Linked DNA regions of Homo sapiens: region 2 is linked to region 1. The links are contacts of gene promoters, found by promoter capture Hi-C in blood cells and fetal thymus (Javierre and others, 2016). All regions are on one chromosome and are shown on one strand. Each heading gives the region's core, a stretch centred on a gene start or on the middle of the fragment in contact. The rest is flanking DNA. Distances are from core to core; before and after follow the strand shown.

Region 1 (5,568 bases), core at 1,347-3,846:
CTTTCCAAATTCTTAATCAGTTCAGTCTCTAATCTTTCAGTGCAGCCATCCCCAACCGTTTTGGCAGAGAGACCGGTTTCATAGAAGGCATTTTTTCCACAGACCAGGGGTAGGGGAAACGGTTTCAAGATGATTCAAACACATTACATTCATTGTGCACTTTATTCCCATTATAATTATGTTATAATATATAATGAAGTAATTATAAAACTCACCATAATGTAGAATCAGTGGGAGCCCTCAGCCTGTTTTCCTGCAACTAGACGTTTTCATCTGGGGATGATGGGAGACAGTGACAGATCATCAGGCATTAGATTCTCATAAGAAGCGTGTGCAGTTCACAATAAGGTTCATGCTCCTACTCATGCTTCCAAACCCTTAAAGAGATCTGATCAAATCAAGTCTCATTTAAAATAGAAAAGTATGTAGTATAAAGTCTAGAGCTGAAACATTTGTCATCAAGTGTCTCATATCAATAACTAGTTTGTGACTCTGGGCAAGTTTCTGTCTTCTCTAAATCTTTACTCAATGACATGTCTTTCTGTCAGTCAGAATAAAATTGGTTAAGAAAATAACCGGCTTGACATTTATTTGTATTTGGGTTTATTGAAGTTCAGAAAATAAGCACTGATTCTAAAATTAATTCTCTAACCATAGTTATCTCTCAGTCTCTACATTTGTATTGACTAGACATATAAAAGATTCATAAATATGTAAACATGTAAACATAAAATTTGTAACTTGTGAAAATTAATTGTAACAATATCACTGTTAGTGATGGTTATCACCAATAATTTGTAAGTCCTAGAGGAAATAAAAATATTAAAATTGAAATTATATATTAGCCCCCAGAAGAAAGGTAAATTTCCCAGTAATTGTAAACTTGAACATATTATATGTTAACCCTACTTTATTTCAATATTTTACAATTTCTTTTTGTTTTTTCTAATGAAATATATTGCAATTTGCTAAAATGCCATATATGTATTTGCATATGTATGTATATGCTGTACATATATATGTACACATACATACATACACATGATTGTGTATATATAGACACACTATTATATGTTTTTGAAAACTAAGCAATTTGGAGAAATATCATTGGGAAAGTACTTACTATGATTTTTAAATGTCTACGAATTAATCAATATCTATTGGTTACTGTTCAAAGCACAGAGAGTCATACTGAGAGGCATAAGACATAACTGATACTACCAACAGGGAAACGAGATATACACAGGAAATGAATTCCTTGGCAGGGTATGAGAGCATTGAACACAAACAAAGGAACTTAAGTAAAGTCCAATGGGATTGAACTGTGACCCAACATAATACAATTTTTCTAGAGACTCATTTGTGTAAATTTGAAGACAGAACTGAGAAATGACATTATAAAAACTAAAAACGGGAGAACGAGATTTTTAATGTATTTACTAAATAGTGAATCAGTTCAGATACATAATAGAAAAGGAATTTCTTGATTAATGGGTCAACATACTGAGATCTGATGGCCTTCAACCTCCTTGGGTCTGCCCACCCCATTTTTGACGCTCCTTAAACTTCTTCAACTTTTGTCTTCTCCAGCTTTTAGTTGCTGTGATCCTCTATCTGGCAATGTATCCAGTGAACCCTGTGGGCTTCTTCCTTCCTGTCCCTCGTGTTACCTGTTCTGTGCTACCTGTGTTGCGTTCTGCTCAACGAACCCTCCTTTGGGTGGCACTCTTGTCCTGCCTAGCCCTAGTTCTGCTAGAGATGCTCAATTAGTTGTTGAGTTGAAGAATTGAATTGAACTGTTTCCCTCAGATTCCTCTAAACACAAATCCACTTATTCTTTCTGTCTTTGAAATTCTCAAAACCGCTAAGACACAGCTATTTTGAAAATAGCCAGCATTGGTTGAAGCTAGGGTGAATATGGCTTTTGACTCAGAGAGGTTGTTCAACTCACCAGGAAAGGGAAGCATTGCAAGTTCCTAAGCACTTCTGGACTCTTAATGCATTTTCACTCGTGAAAGTTTCAAGCAAGAAAAAAATAAAGTAGTGCCCCGAGTTCTTTATTAGATTCAATTACCAGCGTACAAACATCCTAATTCACTTAAACAAAATAGCCCACACACATTCCATTTCCAAGGAGGCTGCTTTTCTTCCTCTCTTCCCTTCTCGCTCTCCCTCTTACTGTTTTTCCTCCGTCTTGCTTCTCCTTTTCTCCCCTTATCCTAGTTATCTCAAAGAAAAGCTTATCTGCAACCACCCTTTAACCACGAATTACCATAAACGAAGCAACCCCCCCACCCCCCCATAAGCGAAAGCAAAGCCCTCAGTGGAGCCTGTCGGGGTGGTGGGGACGCCCCCTTTCGTGCAAAACGACTTCACGGTGAATTTCAAGTGTCCGCAGGGGATGGAAGGGGGGATTCCAGATCCTCGCATTTTCACAGACGGCCTAATCCCTCTGCGCAATGGACCCGGGAAAGCTGCCTCCCGTTAAGGGCGCCCAGGCACTGTCAAAGCGCCCTCCCTGCCCGGGCCGGGAGAAGTAAGGGGTGTGAAGGCGGAGCCACTGGGCTGGCAACACCCTCCCGAAGGTCCAGCCCTTACCCGCCTTCCTACCACCTTAGGGGATTTGGCCCGGAGAACGAGATCACCCTCTCAATGAAAGGCAGATGTCCCTTTAAGGTTTGCTTCTACAGCCCGTGGACTTTAGCCTAAACACGGACCCGCGAAGCTGGCTTTATTTGTCCATGTCTCGGACAGAGCCTGGGAAGCTGCCAGTGAGATTTCAGAGACCAAGAGCGCGAAGGGGCGGGCGATGTGGCAATCCGTCTGGGATGTGAAAAGCGTGGAGCGCATTTAGAGGAATTCGACGAAAACACAGGAAATCACTCCTCTCCCGCTCCTGGGCGCCGCTGCCACTGGGGCAGAGGACTGGGAACCGCGGCAGCGGGATAAGTGGCCCAGCCAGAGAGCGCAGCTCCCGCGCCCGGTCCTGCCCTGCGAACCAGCGCGGCCCCCTGGCGCTGAGGCTGCTCCGGCCATGGCCCCTCGGCCCCGCGCCCGCCCAGGGGTCGCTGTCGCCTGCTGCTGGCTCCTCACTGGTGAGCGACTCGCTTTTCTCTGAGCATCTCCTGCTCGCGGGCTTGGGGCTTGGAGCGGGGAGGGAGGTCCTCAGAGCCATGGGCCAGATAGGAAGAGAGAGCGCCCATCCACTTTCGGGCATTCCAGGTACTCAGGCCAGGCTACGGGGCAGGCAGGAGTTTCGCGTTCTGGTTTTGATATGAATTAGTTTTCGTGTCTCTCCAAAGTCCTTCACCCTAGGAGTAGGAGTGAGGCAGCACTGAAAACCTTAGAAGGTAGAATTCACTTTTAAAATTAAAGTTGTTTTTACAATACACATTGTATATTAGGACTTTGCTGAATATTTCCTCCCCTCCACCCTTTTTTATGGCATGGGATGGGAGGGTGATGCTTATAGGGCGCCTGATACATATGCAAAATTCCTACCCTCGGGTTGTTCCAGAGTGGACATTATTGAATTTTCTTGCTGTCTACTATTTAGGCTTTTTTCCCATGCAGAACAAGAAAAGGCAGGGATGCAAGACGAAACTGCCACTTGTTCCAAAATGATGTTTCTATGTCAGCACCCAAGAGGAGGGATATTTTGAAACGTAGAAAGGAATGGTGAACATTTTCTCTGTAAATATCACAGGGCAGTCTACTTTTAAGATGCAAAATATAGTATTGTTATTTGTACATAAATGTGTATTTTTAAGGAGGGGACTTAAAAACATAGTGGAAATGCAAAGTTGTATCCAATTTAGAAAAAGCTTGAAATATAGCATTTTGTAAGATTTTCCCAATAATGAACTCATGGTCAGATCTTTTTTACCAGTTACTGATTGGGGTGGGGGAAAGTTGAAATGGTGAAAAATGGAAGAAGGTGGGGGGAAAGTGTATCGATAGAATCTCTGTGTGAAAGAAAATCACCTTATTAATGGGTTAATTAACAGCTGGCTTTAACATATCATTGATATTCAATTGTTCAGTGTTTTTACTGCTGGCATGGTTATTAGTACTAGTTAATTTAGCATTTTTACCACTAAAAACAGGGTAGAGCCAGCTAGTTTAGACCTGCCTTAGATGGCCAAGCATTGTTAAGTTTTATGAAGATGATTTAGAAGTTGATTATCAGCAAGCAGAGCTTTTTTCAGAAGGGAGGTAATGTAAAGAGAGTTAATAATTAGCTACTGGCTTTTCATCCAAACATTTCCCACTACTCAGGAAATGTCCAATAATCCAAACAGTGGTAACTGCTGAACAGCATTATAGCCGGTGAGTGGTTTAACTTACCAGCTACTGCCACTACTTTTTACACATATTTGACCTATGATTCTTCTCCAACTCAAATTTTTTTAGATTGTATTTTGTTGTTTTTGTGCAAAATCTGAATACAGTAGTTTACTATCCAAGTTGTACTTTTTCATTCTACCAAATAAGCAGTCTCTAGAGTAGAAATGATGAAATGAGGTTTGCGTATCCTCTAAAAAGACAAGAGTGAAACTTGAAGTAACAGAGAAGTTTAACAAGTTACAATTTCATATATATGTTGGTGAAATATACATTGGTGAATCCAGGAAGAGACTTAAAATATTTAGAAACCTTGTGTGCACTATATTTATGCCCATTTCGCAACACATGAGGGATCTGAAATTGGACTGCTTTCCCATCAGTCATTATATTCTGTAGGCTCTTCTTTAGCAATCTCTTTCAGATTTGGAAACTTCTCATCAATTCAGAGTCCGTTTGTAACCTGGGGACTCATCACCATACTTATCCATGCACACTACTGTAGAGCTTATCTTTCTGTCTTCAATTTGAACCCAACTTCCAGTCTACCCTCCTAATACATCATTTTTACTATATCTGTTTTTAGTCAAAAATCTTTGGTGGTTCTTTGTTGCCTTTAAGATAAAATCCAAAATTCTCAACTGACTGCCCTAATCCAACACCCTCTCTCTATCTCCTACTACTCCTATGTCAGTTTCTTATTGCTGTTGTAACAACTTGCCATAGATCACCAGCTTAAAACAACATAAATTTACTATTGTACAGTTCTGTAGGTCAGAAGTATCACTGGGCTAGAATCAAGATGTCACCAGGGCTGCATTTCTTCTGGAGGTTCTAGGGGAAAATCAGTTTCCCTGTTTTCACCAGCCTCTGGCCACCACCTGCATTCTTGGCCTGTGGCCCCTTTCTCCATCTTCAACCGAGCAGGGTAGAATCTTCAGATCTTCCCCCATGACTCTGCTTTATCATCACATCTCCTTCTCAGACTCTGACCCTACTACCTTCCTAAGGATCCTTGTAATTACAATGTGCCTACCAGAATAATCTCCTCATCTCAAGATCTTTAATTTAATTACATCTTCCAAGTCCCTTTTACCATCTAAGATAACATATTCACAGGTTCCAGGCATTAGGTCATGGATATCTTTGGGAGACCATTATTCTGCCTACCACAACCCATAAGCATAAACTGTCCATTATAGCCAATCACTTTTCTTTACTTTC
Region 2 (5,918 bases), core at 1,418-3,917, 1.8 Mb before region 1:
ACGTTATAAATCTGATACAATATTTATTGCTTATCTGTATTCGAGGGGTTAGTCTCCATCCTAGGATTGTCCCTTTCAAAAAAAATTTTTTGGATGCATCTGTTTTCACTTTGCACTTTCAACGGGCTGGAGCAGACAATAGTGTGAAAAACATCTGAAAATATGAGGCGACAGAGCTGCATGTGTGTTTCATTTCTGCGGTGTTAGGGGAGAAAATAACAAAAGAAACACACACTACAACACACACGCACGCACGCACACACACACACCGGCCCAGGACCTCAGCACAAAGGGCGCGCTGACCCAGCGCTAACACACAAGACAAATTAAAGAAAGGGGCAAATCGGAGGAGGGGCTAAGGCGAGGGTCCAGGCATTTCGGGAAAAGATCAAGGACAAGGAGAGTTAAGAAACTGACCGTGGGCCAGGGAAGACCGGAGAGAGAGAAAGTAAAGTGTCCAGGACTGGAACTCACGTCCCTGAGGCAGGGGACAGTAAGTTTGCTTGTAACACAGACAGTTTTCCTTGACTGCAGGAAACAAGAAAAATAGTAATCATAAAACAAGCACAAATCCCCCAAACATCAGGGGGGTAAAACCCCCATTATTAGCCATCACAAACCAAAACCCAAACCGAGTCTTTTCTGCTGAATTGCTGCAAGATCACAAGAGACCAAGAGATCCGGAGTCAGGCTGTGAACTTGGGAAAGATAAGTTGCCCGGCGAGGTTGGAGGTAGACTGAGGAACGCCTTTTTTTGTGAAGGACACAAATATTTGCAGAGTTTAAAGCTGCAGGAATACAAAAGCAGGAGTGAGATTATCTGATTACGGATACAGGATGTCCGAGTTGTTGCCTCCCAAAAACGACTGCGTAAAAAAAAATAAATAAAAGGCCAGTTCGAAAAGTGAAATTTTAATATCAGTGAAAGCATCGGAGGGACTCGGATTGAACGCGGCAGCTCCGGAACTGGACAACAGCTGCGTGGTGCAGCCAATCCCGGGGCCTGTGGGAACGAGCGACCGATCTCAGGACCACGCGGGCGAGAGCAAGGAGCCTCCCGGCCACACAGCCACAGGCGCTGCGGAACCCAGCCCGGACTCTCCCCGGCTGGAGTGTGCGAAGGGCTTCCCGCCCAGGGGCCCAGGGTGGTCTTAGTGAAAAAGGGATGGCGCTGCAGCACTGACCACGTTGCCCTGGTTTCTCCATTTCTCCTTCCCAAGTCTCTGCCTCTGTTTCCCCATGACCCGGAGGACGCGCCTACGGAAGAGACGTCTGGTCGAGGGGGTGCCGGGGAGCGGAAGGGGGAGGGGAAGGTCTCATCCCTGGGACGCTGACACCCCCCTCCCCGCGGCACTCCAGCTCCGAAGAGCGAGCTTCGGTTCCGCCCGCCCTCCAGACCATTTGCTTATTCTCACTATTGTTTTAATTTATTGTGCAGCCTGTTGCGCCGCGGGCCCGGCTGAGCCATTTGGGGCCCTCTAGATGCCCTGCAGGGCGCCTGTCTCCGGACGACCACCACGCAGGAGCAGCGGGGGCACGCGCGTGTTTTCTTGTGGATAACTGCCTCGGACTTGGCGGGGCCGGTCCCCACCTGAAGCTCACCTCAGGCAGTCGCTAGAAGTTCCAATCCAATCGTGAGCTTTCCTCTGGGAGGGACAGGATCCCCTTCAACTCCTGAGGCTGCTCCTCTGGGCGAATCCCACAGTAATTGCGCATTTCTCTCCCTTTAGTGCTTTGGAAATTTAGAAAGCGCGCTTTCATTTGTACATCGCCTGCCGACAGCCCCTTTGCTGATTAGAGAAGCCTTGTTCCCCCTCTCCACGCGTACGCACACTCATTTTTAGTTTTAACAAATGATTTAAAAATCAAAACAAACCTCTGAGTCAGTCCGCCCAATTTTATGCTCCATCTCCTCTGTGTATGTGTTAGATTCTCTCTGCCAATCGATGGGAAAGAGCATTTAGGGGCATTTGCAATTTCCTTTGTCACTTGCCACTCTGTGCGTATAGATTTTACATATCATTTGTTTACCAAATCAGTTCGTATTTTCTTAGCCCAGGGTTCAGGATTTTGCGTTTGTGGATTAATTGCCCAGTACCCAAAGGGCAGGACAGTCAGAGGAGCCACCTGATGCAAGAAGGATCAGCTCACGTTAGGACAAAACAAGGAGGTTGTTGTGAGCCCTTCTGCGGGCTCTGAATTAACTCAAACAGCCCTTCCTAGGACTTGTTAAAAAGACCGTACCTTGAAGGGATAGTGTGGTGCCTAATGTCTGCTAGCCTATAACTCAATGCATTACAAGGTCATTTTTGCCCAGCCCAAAGAAACTGAGTAAATCCAATGTCCCTGGTTGAAGATAATACGTAGTCACTTCATTTCTGGCCATATGGTGCCTACCTGCATTCTAGTCTTGAACAGTCTCAGGTTCCTTACTGGGTCTCACTTATTGATTTTTTTACTAGATTACATCATAATTTAATATGGCTGAGTGATGTGGAGCTTGTGGATGATCCTTTTATTGCCCTGATTAAAATCCACACAGTAAGAAATTTTTTAAACGGAGGTTGATGATGGAAGCTTCCTCAATAAGTATCCTTCAGTCAAGAAATGATTGAGCTTTAAATTATAAGAATCTCAAAATTACTGTGCAAGTGTTTGGCAATCAATTTCAGGTTTTCATGACAACAGGAGCCTAGGCCATAGGATGGCAAACTAAATTCAATGATCACTTGTCTGCTTCTGCAGATAATCTTAAAGGAAGCTTCATTACAATTCACCCATCAAACAACTGGCATCTCAAAATGCATCAAGAGCTTTGTCTATGTAAGCAGACAGCACATTCTATGGCATTTGAATTTTATAAAAATAACTAGTTAAAAGATATATTTTGAGGTCAGGCTTAATTTTTGTTTGGACCAATTTGCCTTATCATTTATAAAGGTATCCTTAGATGTATGTCGTTACACCAAGCTTTCAGCTGTCTCTAAGGACACATTAAGGTGAGGTGGTGCTGCTGTCTAAGATTCTAAGGACAGCATTCATGGGTAAACAACAGACAAGTCCTGTGCCCTTACCATTACTTCAGAGCACAGCAGTTCCACTGGATTCAAGGTGGCTTCTTCCTACTCTTGTCTTCATTATTGAACATAATTTGATCTTATTTAAGATGATAATAAGTTCCCTGACAGTCAGAGCATGCTGGTCAGAGCAATGTCTCTTTCTTGTGAATGAAAGGACAATTAATAGGAAACTCTGTTGGTCTTCTATATCGTCTTTGTTAGGATGTGGGCAGAGTGAGTCAATAAATAGAATTTGAAATAAGCAACACATATTTGCCCTCCAAATCTTAAGCTATAATTCAATATCTAATGGATTTGAGGAAAGAAAAAAGAGGTACCTGGTCTTCTGAGCTGATAGAGGGTTAGATTATAACCTGATTGAAGGACTGGCAAAAAGAGTAATAGACACAATTGATGGTGTATTTTCATTCAACCACCAGCTAGGCAGAAGAGATGTGGACCAAGGAAATTCCACCTCAACTTTCTTTATTCTGATTCCATGTTCACCAAGAAACTTTCTGATTATAATTGAAATTGCTGTTTATATCTGCTAAGTAATGGGAATGTATTTAGGTCTCTGAGATCTTTTTTGTGTATATATATATATATATATATATATATATATATATATACACACACACACACACACACATATATACATACATGTAAACACACAAAACGTTTTAATCAATGGATTCTGGTCTTAATCACTGTGGTTAAAGTGATTTTGCTCTGAGAGACAGTTTGCTAAGAAGTCAGGTTTCCGGCTAGGTGTGGTGGCTCACACCTGTAATCCCAACACTTTGGGAGACTGAGGCTGGTGGATCACCTGAGGTCAGGAGTTCAAGACCAGCCTGCCCAACATGGTGAAACCCCATCTCTACTAAAAATACAAAAAGTTAGCCAGGCGTGGTGGCAGGCGCCTGTAATCCCAGCTACTTGGGAGACTGAGGCAGGAGAATCGTTTGAACCCGCGAGGCGGAGGTTGCATTGAGCCGAGATCCCACCATTGCACTCCAGCCTGGGTGACAAGAGCGAAACTCCATCTCAAAATAAATAAATAAATAAATAAATAAATAAATAAATAAATAAATAAATAAAATAAAAGTCAGGTTTCCAAGCCTGTGAGATCTAGAATTAGGCATGGCAGACTATGAGGAGCTTTCCCAGAAAGATACCCAACCAACGTTTCAGGAATGGCCAATTACATCTTCCTAGTAGAAATACCACCTTATTGGCCATCTGCCCATACTTCAACAGACAGCAACTTTGCCACTGTATTTTCAGTCCTTAAACTTAGAAGTGTTTGAGAATTATTATTATTTTTTAGACAGAGTTCAGCTCTTTTGCCCAGGCTGGAGCACAGTGGTGGGATCTCGGCTCACTGCAAACTCCACCTTCCGGTTTCAAGTGATTCTCCTGCCTCACCCTCCTGAGTAGCTGGGATTACAGGCGCCCGCCACCGCACCCAGCTAATTTTTGTATTTTTAGTTTAGTTTAGTTTAGTTTGATTTAGTGACAGGGTTTCACCTTGTTGACCAGGCTGTTCTTGAATTTCTGAGCTCAGGCAATCCGCCCACTTCGGCCTCCCAAAGTGCTGGGATTACAGGAGTCAGCCATCGTGCCCTGCTGTTCTCTAAACGAACAAATCAAAACCTCACAAACGTCCCCAGCTTTTATCAAAAATTAACTTATCTAAACTACTGTTGAAATTAATTATAGCTTTGGTCTTCACCAAATCTTGGGTTTATTGTTTGATACCTATCACCGTAAAATATCAGGTTCTTTAACATTTAATGTAATTTAATCGGGTGTTCTCTAGGTGCTGAATTCTGCCTTTTAGTGAGTACAGAAGTTTTATTATTTTATTATCTTTGTTTGTAATTCTGTTAACCCTTTTCTTTCCTCAGAAAAAAGTACTACCAAATTTATTTATCTGCTGTCCCCACAGAAAACTCTTCATCTCCTGATTATAAAAGTTGTTTATCACTTTTATGTTAGTATTTTTCTTGTGTGGCAGACCACATTACATCTCCTACTTCAAAGATGAATGTACCTGAATTTTGTAAAAATTTAATACCTACCTTTAGGATTGTTGCAGGATTAAATTAGATAACCCATGTAAAGGATTTAGCCAATGACTGGCACTTAGTACGTAAAAATGTATTAATTGTTGCAAGTTTTAGCAGAGATGTCCCCTGGCTGAAAGTTTTAAGGGATGGACTATATTGACACCTGTTTCCTTTGCCTGTGCCTAATTGCTTGGAATTCTTCCTTCTTAATCACATATTTAGAATTATTTTTCCCTAAAAACATTTCATTAAAGTTGTTTATGTTCAGGGATTTAACATAAATGTAGAGATTGTTGCTTTTGCTGTGTAACTCTTTTTACAAATTATTTTAAACAAAGTTAAAATAAGGTATAATTCATCATTGATCTTTTGGTGACCTCATTTTTTTGCATGTCTCTGCTCACAGATATTTTTACTAACCCCTTCCATTTCTTTGAATCCTGGAGTTAGAAAACAGCCCTGAAGATCAAAGAATTGTAGATCATTGAATTTTCAACTATAAATGAATTTAGATATAGTGGGTTTCTAGAACCTAAGCCAATTCTTTATTCATCTGTGGTAACTAAGCTATTTTCTCTTTAAATACTTTTACAAAAGTCCCTTTAAAAGTATACCTGAATTATATCTCCTAATTTCCTCTACTTCACAGGGTTTTTCAGTCCTCTTAAAAATGCTTTCCTGTTAGTAAGTAATAATTTCTTCTTATATATTGCATACTGGCTCTTCTCTATTATCTGATGCTTCCTTTAAAAAAACAGATCCTTTGCATTTAAATACATTTCCTCTA

Evidence for each region. Contacts are between HindIII fragments. The CHiCAGO score rates a contact against its expected background, and 5 or more counts as called.
Region 2: a fragment that was not itself captured here is called in contact with the fragment with the promoter of ITGA1 in region 1 in 2 of 17 cell types (M0 macrophages and M1 macrophages); the score reaches 6.8 in M0 macrophages.

The regions. Positions count from the first base shown.
Region 1 is chr5:52,785,320-52,790,887 of GRCh38, forward strand. It overlaps ITGA1 (integrin subunit alpha 1), which reads left to right and starts at 2,597. Exons shown (of 29, transcript NM_181501.2): 1 at 2,597-3,095. The coding sequence starts at 3,035. PELO (pelota mRNA surveillance and ribosome rescue factor) reads left to right here and starts at 2,597. Exons shown (of 3, transcript NM_015946.5): 1 at 2,597-3,095. It overlaps PELO-AS1 (PELO antisense RNA 1), which reads right to left. Exons shown (of 5, transcript NR_186455.1): 2 at 216-273. RefSeq lists an enhancer at 2,285-2,564. The HindIII fragment of the contact is 1,585 bases long and covers 2,238-3,822 here.
Region 2 is chr5:50,968,321-50,974,238 of GRCh38, forward strand. It overlaps LINC02106 (long intergenic non-protein coding RNA 2106), which reads right to left and starts at 1,867. Exons shown (of 2, transcript NR_104653.1): 1 at 1,603-1,867; 2 at 897-1,257. RefSeq lists an enhancer at 1,347-1,868. The HindIII fragment of the contact is 184 bases long and covers 2,576-2,759 here.